3 separate regions of the Homo sapiens genome follow, and regions 2 and 3 are each linked to region 1. The links are contacts of gene promoters, found by promoter capture Hi-C in blood cells and fetal thymus (Javierre and others, 2016). All regions are on one chromosome and are shown on one strand. The core of a region is centred on a gene start or on the middle of the fragment in contact, and the rest is flanking DNA. Distances in the headings are between cores, read along the strand shown.

Evidence for each region. The method cuts DNA at HindIII sites, captures the fragments that hold promoters and counts their contacts. A CHiCAGO score of 5 or more calls a contact.
Region 2: a contact is called between a fragment that was not itself captured here and the fragment with the promoter of CLEC4E in region 1, in 4 of 17 cell types (erythroblasts, total CD8 T cells, non-activated CD4 T cells and 1 more). The highest score is 7.0, in erythroblasts.
Region 3: a fragment that was not itself captured here is called in contact with the fragment with the promoter of CLEC4E in region 1 in 2 of 17 cell types (total B cells and erythroblasts); the score reaches 5.1 in total B cells.

The regions. Positions count from the first base shown.
Region 1 is chr12:8,538,387-8,542,752 of GRCh38, reverse strand. CLEC4E (C-type lectin domain family 4 member E) reads left to right here and starts at 1,848. Exons shown (of 6, transcript NM_014358.4): 1 at 1,848-1,992; 2 at 2,806-2,898; 3 at 3,447-3,536. The coding sequence starts at 1,956. The HindIII fragment of the contact is 5,761 bases long and covers 1-4,366 here.
Region 2 is chr12:9,096,523-9,100,888 of GRCh38, reverse strand. A2M (alpha-2-macroglobulin) reads left to right here. Exons shown (of 36, transcript NM_000014.6): 14 at 1,366-1,508; 15 at 2,133-2,282. It also overlaps a transcript of KLRG1 not described here. Among named protein-coding and RNA genes, the nearest start is that of A2M, 17 kb to the left of the region's middle. The HindIII fragment of the contact is 946 bases long and covers 2,591-3,536 here.
Region 3 is chr12:9,062,936-9,067,301 of GRCh38, reverse strand. LINC00612 (long intergenic non-protein coding RNA 612) reads left to right here and starts at 2,232. Exons shown (of 3, transcript NR_034140.1): 1 at 2,232-3,034. A2M-AS1 (A2M antisense RNA 1) reads right to left here and starts at 2,125. Exons shown (of 2, transcript NR_137425.1): 1 at 2,074-2,125; 2 at 1-1,476. It also overlaps a transcript of KLRG1 not described here. RefSeq lists silencers at 2,737-2,786, 2,847-2,896. The HindIII fragment of the contact is 7,774 bases long and covers 1-4,366 here.

The DNA of each region.
Region 1 (4,366 bases), core at 599-3,098:
TGGTAATTATGTTCATCATTTTATAATTCATATAGCTCATCCACTAGATAGTTTCTCTTTTTTTACTGATCAAAAGCTATTTGCTGAGAATACACATATTAAATATGGGTATATTCTATAATATACACATATATAATTTAAAGATATTTTTAAAATTGTATTACTATAAAACAGAGAATGCAGAGAAAATTGACCAGTACCTTGAAATAATAAAAAGTCCCTTTGAGAACAAGAATATTTTCTCACACATGGAAAATTCGTGAGTCACTGGATGTGGGGATTTACCAAGTCATGTACATCATACTTATGCCTCCTGACTCGTGAACTTAAATAAACTGAGACCAGTGTGATCTTATTCTTAAGTATCTTTAAGTAAGGAGAAGGCACATATCTAACTATTCTTCCAGAGAAGCATTAATTCTTTTTTTTTTTTTTTTTTGAGACAGAGTCTCACTCTATCGCCCAGGCTGGAGTGCAGTGGTGCAATTTTGGCTCACTGCAACCTCTGCCTCCCAGGATCAAGCTATTCTCCTGTCTCAGCCTCTCAAGTATCTGGAATTACAGATGCGTGCCACCACACTTGGCTAATTTTTGTATTTTTAGTAGAGGTGGGGTTTCACCATGTTGGCCAGGCTGGTCTCAAACTCCTGACCTCAAATGATCCACCCACCTTGGCCTCCCAAAGTGTTGGAATTACAGGCATGAGCCACTGCTCCCGGCCCAGAGAACCATTAAATTCTAATATCTAATTGAAATTGCTTTTTCTGACCTTCAAATACATTTCTCCTACTGTAGGCTGTAACATAGAACTAAAATCCCCAAATAATTGAGAACAGGAGAATTAAACTGCCTGCTGGGTCTCTGAGACTTCAGAAGCTGCGTTATGTTGTGAAAAACTAAGCTGAGTTTCAAAGTGGTCTAATCACATGAGGCTGTCCTGCTGAGGGGGACTCTAGTAGTCAGCCTAGTAGTAGCAGCCTAGTAGTCAGCATAAGATAAGAGGGACATAAATCCACAACATTAGAATATTCAAGAGCTGCAAATGAAGAAGAAAGAAAAACCATAAAAGATGAAAAAGAGGACGGGCGCGGTGGCTCACGCCTGTAATCTCAGGACTTTGGGAGGCTGAGGCGGGCGGATCACGAGGTCAGGAAATTGAAACCATCCTGACGACCACAGTGAAACCCCGTCTCTGCTAAAAATACAAAAAATTAGCCAGGCGTGGTGGCGAGCGCCTGTAGTCCCAGCTACTCGGGAGGCTGAGGCAGGAGAATGGCTTGAACCCGGGAGGCGGAGCTTGCAGTGAGCGGAGATCATGCCACTGCACTCCAGCCTGGACGACAGAGCGAGACTCTGTCTCAAAAAAAAAAAAAAAAAAAAAGATGAAAAAATTCAGGTTGCCATGTCCTAAATACATACACTATATGCCCAGCTTTGTGCTATGTTGTCTAAGTCTTCTTTTCAGTTACCAAATGTGTGGATGGTACAGATCCAAAGTGAAATTCAGAGTGCAGAGGTGAGCTCCATATTGTCAAGGAAAAACTGGGGGATGAGTTATGCCTTGAAGAAACTAGAGACATTTGGTCCAACGAAACGAAACAACATTTAAAAAAAAAACTCTCCTGTTTCCCCATGGCTAGCCTATTTGTGTTGATGCTTACCATTTCATAATTTCCTCATTTTGTTGTTACATGGAGTGAAGAGAACTGACATGCTGTCCAATAAACTTCCTTGTCCTCCTTATGCAAGAAAGGAAATCCTGACTTAATGCGTAGCCACAGAACAAGTTAATATTCTACATCTATCGGAGCTGAACTTCCTAAAAGACAAAGTGTTTATCTTTCAAGATTCATTCTCCCTGAATCTTACCAACAAAACACTCCTGAGGAGAAAGAAAGAGAGGGAGGGAGAGAAAAAGAGAGAGAGAGAAACAAAAAACCAAAGAGAGAGAAAAAATGAATTCATCTAAATCATCTGAAACACAATGCACAGGTAAAATCTGCAACTCTTCCTTTCCTTCCATAGATCTCTTTTTGGAACAAGTGATAAATATGGTGAAAGACAGGACAATAGAAAAGTATTCACTGAAGTTAAAAAAAAAAGTGGGGGGACAGAGGAAGAGAGAGAGAGAGATTTAAAGACTATTTCTTATACCAGAAAGCCTGCTGGCCTCTAGCTAAGGGAGAGCTATCAGTTTCCACCCTTTCTGCAATACATTGTGTCCCTTTTGGCAAGTCACTTCACTTCTCTGGAACTCTCTTTGTCTGTAAAATGTTTAATGGGAGGAAGAGAGGAACTATTAGATGACTGTTAACATTTTACCTAATTTACAAAGCGCTTGAAAAGTGAGACACAGAAAAAAAAAAAAGATCAGGAGAAGGACAAGAAAAGCAAAGACGAGAAAAGGGAAAAGAAAGAAAAAGAAAGAAGGGGGGCCTTAGAAAATACTGAAAAAAATTTAACTGAGAGACTTAGAAAGGAAAAATTGTATATCTGAGTTCATGAGTCAGAGTCTTACTCCAGGGGTGCTAAACGTGTGGTCCTCAGACCAGCAGCAGCAGTAGCCCCTGGGAACTTGTTGGTTCCATACAAACTCTACTGAGTTGCTAACTCTGGGGGTAAGGGTCAGCAATCTGTGTTTCCATAAACCCTCCAAGTGATTCTGAAGCATGCTGAAATTTGGGAATTACTCAGTACAAACAATGGAAGTAGAAGGAAATAAGTAAGGATGAATAAGAATCTCTTCTATCTCTTTTGTACCTTGCTTAGGGAAGATTGATCATGTTTGTGTCTTTCTTTCTACAGAGAGAGGATGCTTCTCTTCCCAAATGTTCTTATGGACTGTTGCTGGGATCCCCATCCTATTTCTCAGTGCCTGTTTCATCACCAGATGTGTTGGTGGGTTCTGAAGGTCAAATTCAATTTAATTCTTCCTGGTGCATATTAGGAGAAAACTCTTCCATGCTGCCTGTAGACTCTCTTTGCCCTCAAAGGGTCTTTCTATTTCACCCTTTTTTTTTTCCCTATTAATCTCTAGGTTATTTCTCAAACCAGAAACCTCAACAAGCAGGGAACTGTTTCTGAATTTTAATCACCTGTGACTTACTTTTCATGATAGACATTTTTCACTTCCTTGGCAGTCCTGAATCCTCCTCTTTCAGCCTCTATCATTAGTGTAACCTTCTCTAGGAGAGTCTGCCTTAGAGCTTGAACTACTGGTCGGCACCAGAGATATGACTAATTACTTTTGGAAGGAAGGGTAGAGAGAGTTGGACTTGGCATAAGAGGTAGTGCAAACATATCTATTTTCTCTGGGTCGTAAGAAAAAGCAGATTGTAAGAAAAAACATGATAATTATTGGCACTTTTGTTATAAATACAAAACTGAGGGAACTGACATTTTTAACCGAAATAAGACTAACAAACATTATGCCCTTTCTTTTACAGTGACATTTCGCATCTTTCAAACCTGTGATGAGAAAAAGTTTCAGCTACCTGAGAATTTCACAGAGCTCTCCTGCTACAATTATGGATCAGGTATAATAGTCCCAAAGGTGAACATCAAAATTTACAAAGCAACATTTTCTGGCTTCTAGATTGACTTTGGGACAGGTGAGATATAGCTGGATTAGGTCTTATTTTTCAAAAGCAAAATGTAAAATCCTAGAAATTTGGTGATGCAATTAGCATTGGGGCAGAAAGTCTTGGGGACATTATAGTAAACTTTTAGAATAAATTTGAGGGGTATGTCTGAACAGTAAATCTGGAAGTGGAAGGTATTATTCCCAGGAGTGTACCTTTTTTTTCATTCACCTACTTCCAAAATGAGATGGAGAAAAAACGTATGGAGTAGAGAATTTATAAATATCTCACAAATATACTCTCTATGCTCTTCTATGTCATCCTGTTGCAAGTCCTAGCAAAATGCTACATGACACTAAAAAAGTGACTTCCTTCTCTGAGCTATAATTTTCTCACCATTAAATTGAGAGAAGTTAGAAGAATTATTTATAATAGACCTCAAAGGCAAAAGTTCTGTAATTCTAAGAAATCTAACTGTAGGGACCAGCCCCACAGGGTTGGTGGGTCTCTCCCTGTGTCCAGAGACGAGAGCATGTAGAAATAAAGACACAAGACAAAGAGATAAAAGAAAAGGCAGCTGGGCCCAAGGGACCACTACCACCAATGCGCGGAGACCGGTAGTGGCTCCGAATGTCTGGCTGCGCTGTTATTTATTGGATACAAGGTGAAAGGGGCAGGGTAGAGAGTGTGAGTCATCTCCAATGATAGGTAAGGTCATGTGGGTCACGTGTCCACTGGACAGGGGGACCTTCCCTGCCTGGCAGCCGAGGCAGAGAGGGAGAGGA
Region 2 (4,366 bases), core at 1,814-4,313, 560 kb before region 1:
AAAGTCCATTGTATCATTCTTATGCCTTTGCATCCTCATAACTTAGCTCCCACTTCCTAATAGCTTAGCTGCCACTTCCTAATAGCTTAGCTCCTACTTCTGAGTGAGAAGATATGATGTTTGGTTTTCCATTCCTGAGCTGGGAATATCAGGAATACTTTCAAGTAACGAGAGACCATTTCCATCTAATATTAATTAAAAGAAAGTTGAGGGAGGGAAAACAATAATGGTTTTTTTCTCACCCTTTATCAAATATGTGTTGTCTTTTTTTTCAGCCTATTTTCTTTGCGTTATTTAAAATATTGGTGTGGGCCAGCTATGATGGCTTACGCCTGTAATCCCAGTACTTTGGGAGAACGGGATGGGAGGATCTCTTGAGGTCAGGAGTTTGAGACCAGCCTGGTCAACATAGTGAGACCCCATCTCTATAAAAGTAAATAAATAAATAAATAAATAAATAAGAACAAAGGGGGAAAAATAAAATACATAAAATATTGTTGTGTATAATCTATGCTTATTCCAGATTTTTAAACCATAAATATTCTTGAACCTCTTCTCAAAATGAGAATTGTGTTAGAGAATGGGGTGGAGAAAATGTACGATTTCAAGGTATGTTGTATATACCAGGTCTTGTGCTGAGTCATTTATGTCATTTATATTATTATAAATATCTTTTTTCCCTTTCAAGATAGTTATGATTTATGAAGCATTAAATTGGGTACTTCTACCGACTGAAGCGGACTCTTGCCATGAGCAAATATGTCATAATATAAACCTTTGAAGGTTGCTCCTAGTCTAGTAGACTCTAAAAGATAACTTGCTAGAAAAGTATCAGTAATCTACTCTCTCATTAGTTCTTGTAGCAACACAGAAGCACCATAGCAGACTGAAGGAAACTTAATGCAACCTCTAAAGAATCTACATAGGCATCAAAAAATAACTTCTGAAGGAGCATGGTGTTCCTCTTATGGAGAAAGAACCAAATATTGGCTCATAGAAGGTTAAAGAGCATGTAGCATGAATACAATGTGTTGAACTCTTACTCTTACATCTCATAACTTCAGGTTCTATTTCCCTCTTCTAGTATGAGGCCTAGATCAAATGGTAGTGAATTGGATGTCTTCATACCCTTAACTAGCATCAGAACATTAGGTGGGTGAGCTGAAGCTTAAAGCTGGTGAAAAATCAACAGAGTATATGATTTATGAGAGGAGAGAGGGCTTTGATAGGGTTTTTTTCTAAAGCTAGAGTCCTTAGAGGTAATCATCCATTTGTTACATCTACTGTTTATTATGTCTGTTACATCTACTAATGGAAATAGTCATTAACCTATGATGGCTTCCTCTCATTCTCTTTGTGCCCCAGTGAAGGGCCATTTTTCCATCTCAATCCCTGTGAAGTCAGACATTGCTCCTGTCGCTCGGTTGCTCATCTATGCTGTTTTACCTACCGGGGACGTGATTGGGGATTCTGCAAAATATGATGTTGAAAATTGTCTGGCCAACAAGGTGTGTGTTTTAGATCATAAAATCTTCAACATGTAAAACTAGAAGTTACTATTGTTATCATTTGTTTTACACATGTGAACATTAGGGCCAAAAGGGTTAAACAAATTCCCCAGAGACATTCAGCAAGGTAGTGGCAGAGTCACACTAAGAAGCAGAATCACTTGATTCCTTATACAAAACTCTCAAACTTCTCCTAGCAGTGCCTCTTACCAATTACACAGTTCAGAGTATGTTATTCCCTTCTTCTATGATGAAACGTTGGGAAATATGTAAGCAAGTTTTTAAGACTACTAAGGAGCCAAAAGAAAAATGCAAGAGCACCTAGACCCATGCATGTCCCACCACAATTAATGAGCACCTTGCCGTGTATCAAAGATAAAAATGGCATTTCATGACTAGTAATTTATAAGAATAATTAGAAATAATTCTACTGGCTCAAGTGATTCTTGAGAATGAAAGAGAAGTGTAGGGAACAAAAAGCTTCAGGATTGACACAATGCCAACCCTCCACGAAGTCAAGCAGAGTGGTTATACATTGTACATGAGGAACACTCTGCAAATGCGAGTGAATGCATGGGTAAACCTGGAAATTTGCTTTTCTGACCTTTTGTTCCAATTTCACAGGTGGATTTGAGCTTCAGCCCATCACAAAGTCTCCCAGCCTCACACGCCCACCTGCGAGTCACAGCGGCTCCTCAGTCCGTCTGCGCCCTCCGTGCTGTGGACCAAAGCGTGCTGCTCATGAAGCCTGATGCTGAGCTCTCGGCGTCCTCGGTGAGTTCCTGGCAGCCTCAGGAATCAAGAAGGGCCGTGCCAGGGGCTCAGAGCAAGGAAAAATGACTGGATAAGTAGGATAAGATCAATTAAAATTATATTTATCTAGGAATTAATTGCTTTGAGCTCTCTTGTGGGCTTTCATTGGTAAGGAATTATATATATATATATATATAACTACTCACTTCTGCAGTTAAAAAAATAAACAAAATACAATATATTGAATCAAATAAAAGAATTTTTAAAAGGACAAAATGTGATGAAAATTAACAACCAAAAAAGGACTCGTTATTCAGACACGTTAAGCTTCTTGCTCAAGAGCACATAGCAATACAAATTCAAATCTTCTGATTGTGTCAGGACATCCGTATATGCAAGGCTGGAGAGAATACAGAGCAGATTGTGAAAAGTGCTATATGAGAAGTGCAGTTATGCAAAATAAAAGAAAGGATTAACTGAGCAACCGGGGAAGCCGTTCGAAAATTATATATTTAAAATGTAAAAAGACCATACAGTACCCAAAGTCCTTAAAATCCCAGAGCTCCATGCAACCAGTAATAGGAGTTGTCAAACTAGTTTCAACATTTCAAAAAGCCTAACAAAAGTGATACATATACCTGCACTGAGGCTATACAGGCTAAATGAAATATCAGATTTCCGTTTTTATAAGAATTATGGCTGGGCCTGGTGGCTCACGCCTGTAATCCCAACACTGGGAGGCCAAGGCAGGCAGATAACTTGAGATCAGGAGTTTGAGACCAGTCTGGCCAATATAATGAAACCCCGTATCTACTAAAAATACAAAAATTAGTCAGACGTGGTGGCGGGCGCCTGTCATCCCAGCTACTCAGGAGGCTGAGGCAGGAGAATCACTTGAACCCAGGAGGCAGAGGTTGAGTGAGCCGAGATCGTGCCACTGCACTCCAGCCTGGGCAATAGAGCAAGACTTGGTGTCAAAAAAAAAAAAAAAAAAAGAATTACATCAGTTGAAATAATTGCTGTCCCAAGCTACACATAATTTCTGAGGGAACATATGTATTATCTCTGAGGAACAAAACTTAGGGAAATTGAACTACTATATAATTGACATTGATAACTGAACTCTTTGAAAATATGGAGCTAATAGAAGAAATACCAAAAGGATATGCTGAATTGGAACAACAAAAACTAGTTAATAGCATGTACTAATAGTAGTTTGCTCACATCTTCAAATTTTTAATATGAGACCAATTGTAATAACCTCTTACTGAAGCTTTTTCTACTACCATAATTTAACAAAGAGAAATTTATATTTTTATTTTCCTGAAATAGAAACTTATAAAAAAATGTTTCTTACTTGTTTGTCCTTCTAATGGGATTTTAACTGAAAATATTAGAATACTTCTAAAGGAAGCATCAAGTACATTTCAACAGTAGGATCTCAAGAGGATATGTGGGAAAATAATATACATGTTTTATACTTTTATAATATAATTTTATAATTCTCAAAGAATTTTTCAAATTATAACAACCCTGATGGGTAGATAAGGCAGACAGTCCTATTTATTAATAATAAAGCAGAAGCTTTCAGGGATTTAGTAGTAGACCTGAGTTAAAACACCAACTCTTCTCAAGCTTTGATTAGTGTCTTACCAATGAAACACTTTGCTGCTACTAGTGTAGGTCATTCATTCAACACATTTATTTAATGCCCACTGTGTTCTAGGTATTATACTAAGTGCTAGTAGAGATCAAGCAGTGAGCTACTGGAAAGATAAAAATGTATGTCTCATGGAACTTACATTGTCTGTCCCATAGATGAGACAGACAATAATTATGCAATATGCCACAATAAAAGCAGGGAGAGGAAATGAGAAATGTTAAGATACTTTGAGAAAGTGTCTAATTTCATCACACCACTCACTTTGCTCATCTGTTCTTGTCAATCAGTTTTAAACTCCTACGAATATAATGCAATGTAACTATCACAATTTTTATGTCTGTCTTACTTCTCACCTTCAAATGGACTTGAAAGCATCATGCCTAGAATTTTACGGTTAAAGTTGTATGTATTATATGAAGATCTGGAGCATTTTGTTTCCACT
Region 3 (4,366 bases), core at 1,061-3,560, 520 kb before region 1:
AAATCTGCCACTGATGAGAGTGATCAGTCAGTTAACCTGGGGTTTCAGATTCAATAATAGATGAGCTGAAAATAATGAAGGGAGGATTCATGCAGAAGCACGTTTTCTCAGAAGAAGGAATGTGTATGACTCAAAGTCCAAATAGGAGTATTATATTGGATCATCTTTCTTCTGGAACTTTGAGCCAGGATTAAAGGATAGCTGTAAAGTCAAGGAGATATTCTGATGCAGAAATCAGTTCTCACAACATCTGATTGATGTCTGATGTCTCACAACATCTCTTTAGTCTATTTTTAAAATATATAATTTTCTTTGCAGTAAGTATTGCGACATATATTTCCATTCTATAGAAGGGGAAGCAAAACTTCAGGAGTTTTTGAAGTAGGAAAGGTTAAAGCAGGAGGATTGAGCCAAGAGAGTCTGAGGACAATCGTAGGAGTCCTACTCTTCATTTGGCACAAAAATGACAATGCTTAGTTAGGCAGAAGGTGAGTATGGATTGTATAAACTAAGAACTGGAAAAGACTTTGCAGTTCAAGGAATCCTTAGCTCTGTCTCCAGGCTAGACAAAATAAGAAATAAAAGCTATCACTTCTGTGTGGTGCTTATAGAATAGAATTAACATATCAGCATTATGGGATCTTTAGGGTGTCGCTTTCCTGGCCAGTCTAGTGGCACCTTTGCCTGAGTTTTGCTCTGGGCCCACTGGGCTGCTTCTGCCCACTCGCACTTGCTACCAACCTGGATCCCGGATCCAAGGGAGATTGAGACGGGTGGAGCAGAGGGGTGTGCTAGGGGTGTGTGAGCAAGCGTGGCCACTGTGCAGTCACACACACAAGCTGCTGCCCAGGTTGGGCAGCTCCAGGTGCCAGCACAGGCTCTCCATGAGGTGGCTGGACCAGGCACACAACAAACAGCTTCCCCCTGGACCAGGCGCATCACAAGCAGCTTCCAACAGTGGCACTGGCGAATGCAGTGACGCCAACCAGGGCCCCAAAGAGGGAGTCACAGCCCGGGCTCAAGGAGCTCCCAGGTCTGGGCTTCTCCGAGGGCCAGAGCTCTTCTCTCCCTGTGGGGAGCAAGGGGCATGTTGCAGCCCTGTTTGTGTTACAGCTCTTTTAACCTTGCTGTGCAGCTCCTCAGCTCCTGCATCAAGCAGACAAGTGGAGAATGAGACAGATGAAGAGGAGCATTACTGAGCAATGGAACAGAAGGATAAGGAAGATGAAGAGGAAGGAGACCTGCAGTTAGTAGCTCATTTCCACAGTAAGGATGTCCTTTCCACAGCAAGGGTGTCCCAACGAGTGTTCAGCTTCTAGCAGAACGGAGACCCTGGAGTGGCTGGCTCCTCTCTGCAAACAGGTCTTCCCATTGAGTGTTCAGCTTTCAGCAGAGAGGAGGTTCTGGAATGGGTAGTTTCTCTCCACAGGTAGGTCATCCATTGTCTTCCCATCCTCTCTTCCAATCTAGCTGAGTCTGGGGGATTTTATGAGCCTCAGAGGGAGGAAATGCATGCTGATTGGTCCATGGGCAGCCATGAGTGGGCCCAGGGAGCAGCACCACAAGTTACCTCTCTGGTCTGCAGGCTTCAAGCCCTCACCAGCTTGAGGGTGGGACTTCACTGGGGACCCATCCCCTTCCACCCAGGAACCTGTCTGCCTCCTGCTCCCAGGCTGTTCATGCCAAGGAGCGCCTGCAAGTCAGTGTCCAGCTGTCTTCAGACCCCTCTCAGCCTCCCTCCCACGCTTGTTGGTGCCCAAGTTCCAAAGGGGGCCGAGACGGCAGGGGGCTGGCGTATCAGCACTGTCCTGAGCGTGTGCACGCTCGGCCAGGCTGTGACAGTACCCAGGCTCGGCCCGACCTTGCTCTGAGTTCAGAGTGGGTGCTAACAGTGGAGAGAAGCCAGGCAGCCGGAGTAGGCACCCTGGAGCCTGCAGTGGGCAGGGGACTTTGCTGGGCCTCTGAGAGCACAGAAAATGTCCACAGCCGCGGCAAGGTGGCTGCAGCTGCACCCTGGGAGCTCCTGCTCCACCAGTTCGGAAGGGGCGGGGCTCCTGCTTGTCCCTGGCTCACCTGCTCCTGAGTGTGCAGGTCCGGTGGCGCCTCCTTGCAGGCTGGGCTGATGGGCGGGGGCGGGGGGGGGGGGGGGGAGGAAGGGAATGTTCCAGGTCCTCCCTGGGCCCGGGACTGTGTCCGGGGCAGGGATGACGTCGCTGCAAGTTCTTCCCGTGGCCCCGGGGCTCAGGGGCAGCCCAGGACTCTCCCTCGCCCGGCTCACGGCCCTGCCTGGGGGGCGCCTCCGGGAGCAGATCACGAGCCCTGGGGCTCAGCCCTCAGGCGCGTCTAGCTCGGCGGTCACCCCAGTGCCGGGAGGACCCTGAAGACGCGCCCCAGGCGGCCCTACTCAGAGCCTCCTCCCAAGGCCCAGGAATGCGGCGCTGTCGGAGGTGTGCGCGGTGGCCACACCGCTGTCCGGGTCCCCAAAGCGGGCCCCGCTCCCACTTCTCGCCTTGGCCCCGAACCCTGGGTCCAGCCCCAGCGCTTTGTGTGCGAACACCGCTCCGCCCCGGACCCAGCTCCGCCTTGGGGCCCCTCTCTGCCTGCCCCTCCGTGCCCGACTACACTGCTTCCCCTCCGGCGGGCGACTCAGCCCGGTCCATCGTGGCGGCTTCCAGGGCGGCAGGCTCCGGGAGTACTCCCGGGGCCGGCTCCAAGGACTGTTCCCCTCCTCCCCACTCCCACTCCGCGGCGGCGGCGGGCGAGAGCGGCGACATAGGGCCAGGGTCCGGAGCGGTGGAGGCTCCTGGCCGGGGAGCACGTCGCCCCACCCGGCAACGCGAGGATGGTGGCGGCGCAGTCGGCTGCTTTGGGGTCTCAAGGCACAGGGGACGCGAGGCACAGATGTCCCACAGCAGCCACTGCGGCTCCCGCAGCTGCTCCGCCGCCGCTGCCCGCCCCTCCCTGCTGCAGCTGGCGTGATGGCAGCGGCAGCTCTGGACGCCCCACTGCTGCCACCATCAGCCTTGTGAAATAGGTACTACCTTAACAAATGAAATTGAAGCAGAGACATGTAATTTGCCCAAAGTTACTAAGTTAGTGACAAAGCTAGAATTCAAGACCAAGAAGTCTAGCTTCCATGCTCTTAACTTCCAACCATGGTGACACCTCAAACAACTTCAGACAAAAAGGCCAGGAGAAAGTATATTTCAGAGCTTAATAAACATTATAATTAGCTGTCAAATTAAGTATCAAGCCAGGGCACAGAACATAAAAGAAATCAGAGTATGGCTATGGGAACAAGACAACAGGATTATAATTTTACCTCTTGGTTCTAGTTTTTTTCTTTGTTCATATGGAAATCGTTACTGAAAAGGTACTTTAAGGATATGCTTGTTGCAAATCATTAGCTGTATCACTGACCAAGAGTGTTTATTCCTGAAATACTAACTGATTGCCTACTATCTGCCAGGCACAATATCCCATGCTATAATACAAAATTAAACAAAATAGGATTCCTCCCTTAGAAAAACTCACCGCAGAGTAAAAGAAAAAGATACACATCTGGGTCATTATAATGATCAGGTGCTCAAGCTATTCATTGCCCCAGTGGACTGGAGATACAATGGCCTTCTCAAGTTTTGGGGTATTACACTCAAATTCATATGTAATACTGGAGAAAAGGCCTAATTACAACTTAAACTGGATTTCCCACCAGCCTGGTGGCATGGGAATCTTGGAATTAAAATTACGTAGAATTTTTAAAAGTGATGTATCTTCTACATCTGATTTTGTGAACTGAAGTTTATTCTTTCCAGGAAAGCATATAGATACACGACAGGAAATGAAATGGATACTTGTTGGGGTCAGTTTTATGTATAGTTTGTATTTTATTTTGAAATATGATACACTGCTATTCTCTTGCATTTTCTTATATGTGACTCACCACTAACCCTATATTCCCCCATTTCAGGCCAGTTGGTCATAAGCATCCATTTGCCTCAGAGAATACTGGGTTGTTATGACAAGAATATAAAGTTGGAAAGAAATAGAATATTTGAGTCTACCCTGTAAGAATAAAAAGAATAAAAGGGGTTTAAATTTATTTAGACCCTATTGTTTAATCAAGAATTCTGGCCAGGAGCAGTGGTTCATGCCTATAATCCCAATGCTTTAGGAGGCCAAGGCAGGAGGATCATTTGAGGCCAAGAGTTTGAGACCAGCCTGGGCAAATTATTGCTCGGGAAAAAAAGGTCTTATTTAGTATTTTAGTCTTTACAATGTTTTTTTCTATTATGCAATATTCTCTCAAATACTTTATGTCCATCCACGTTGTCTGAGACATGCCACTTTAACATTCTAGTTATGC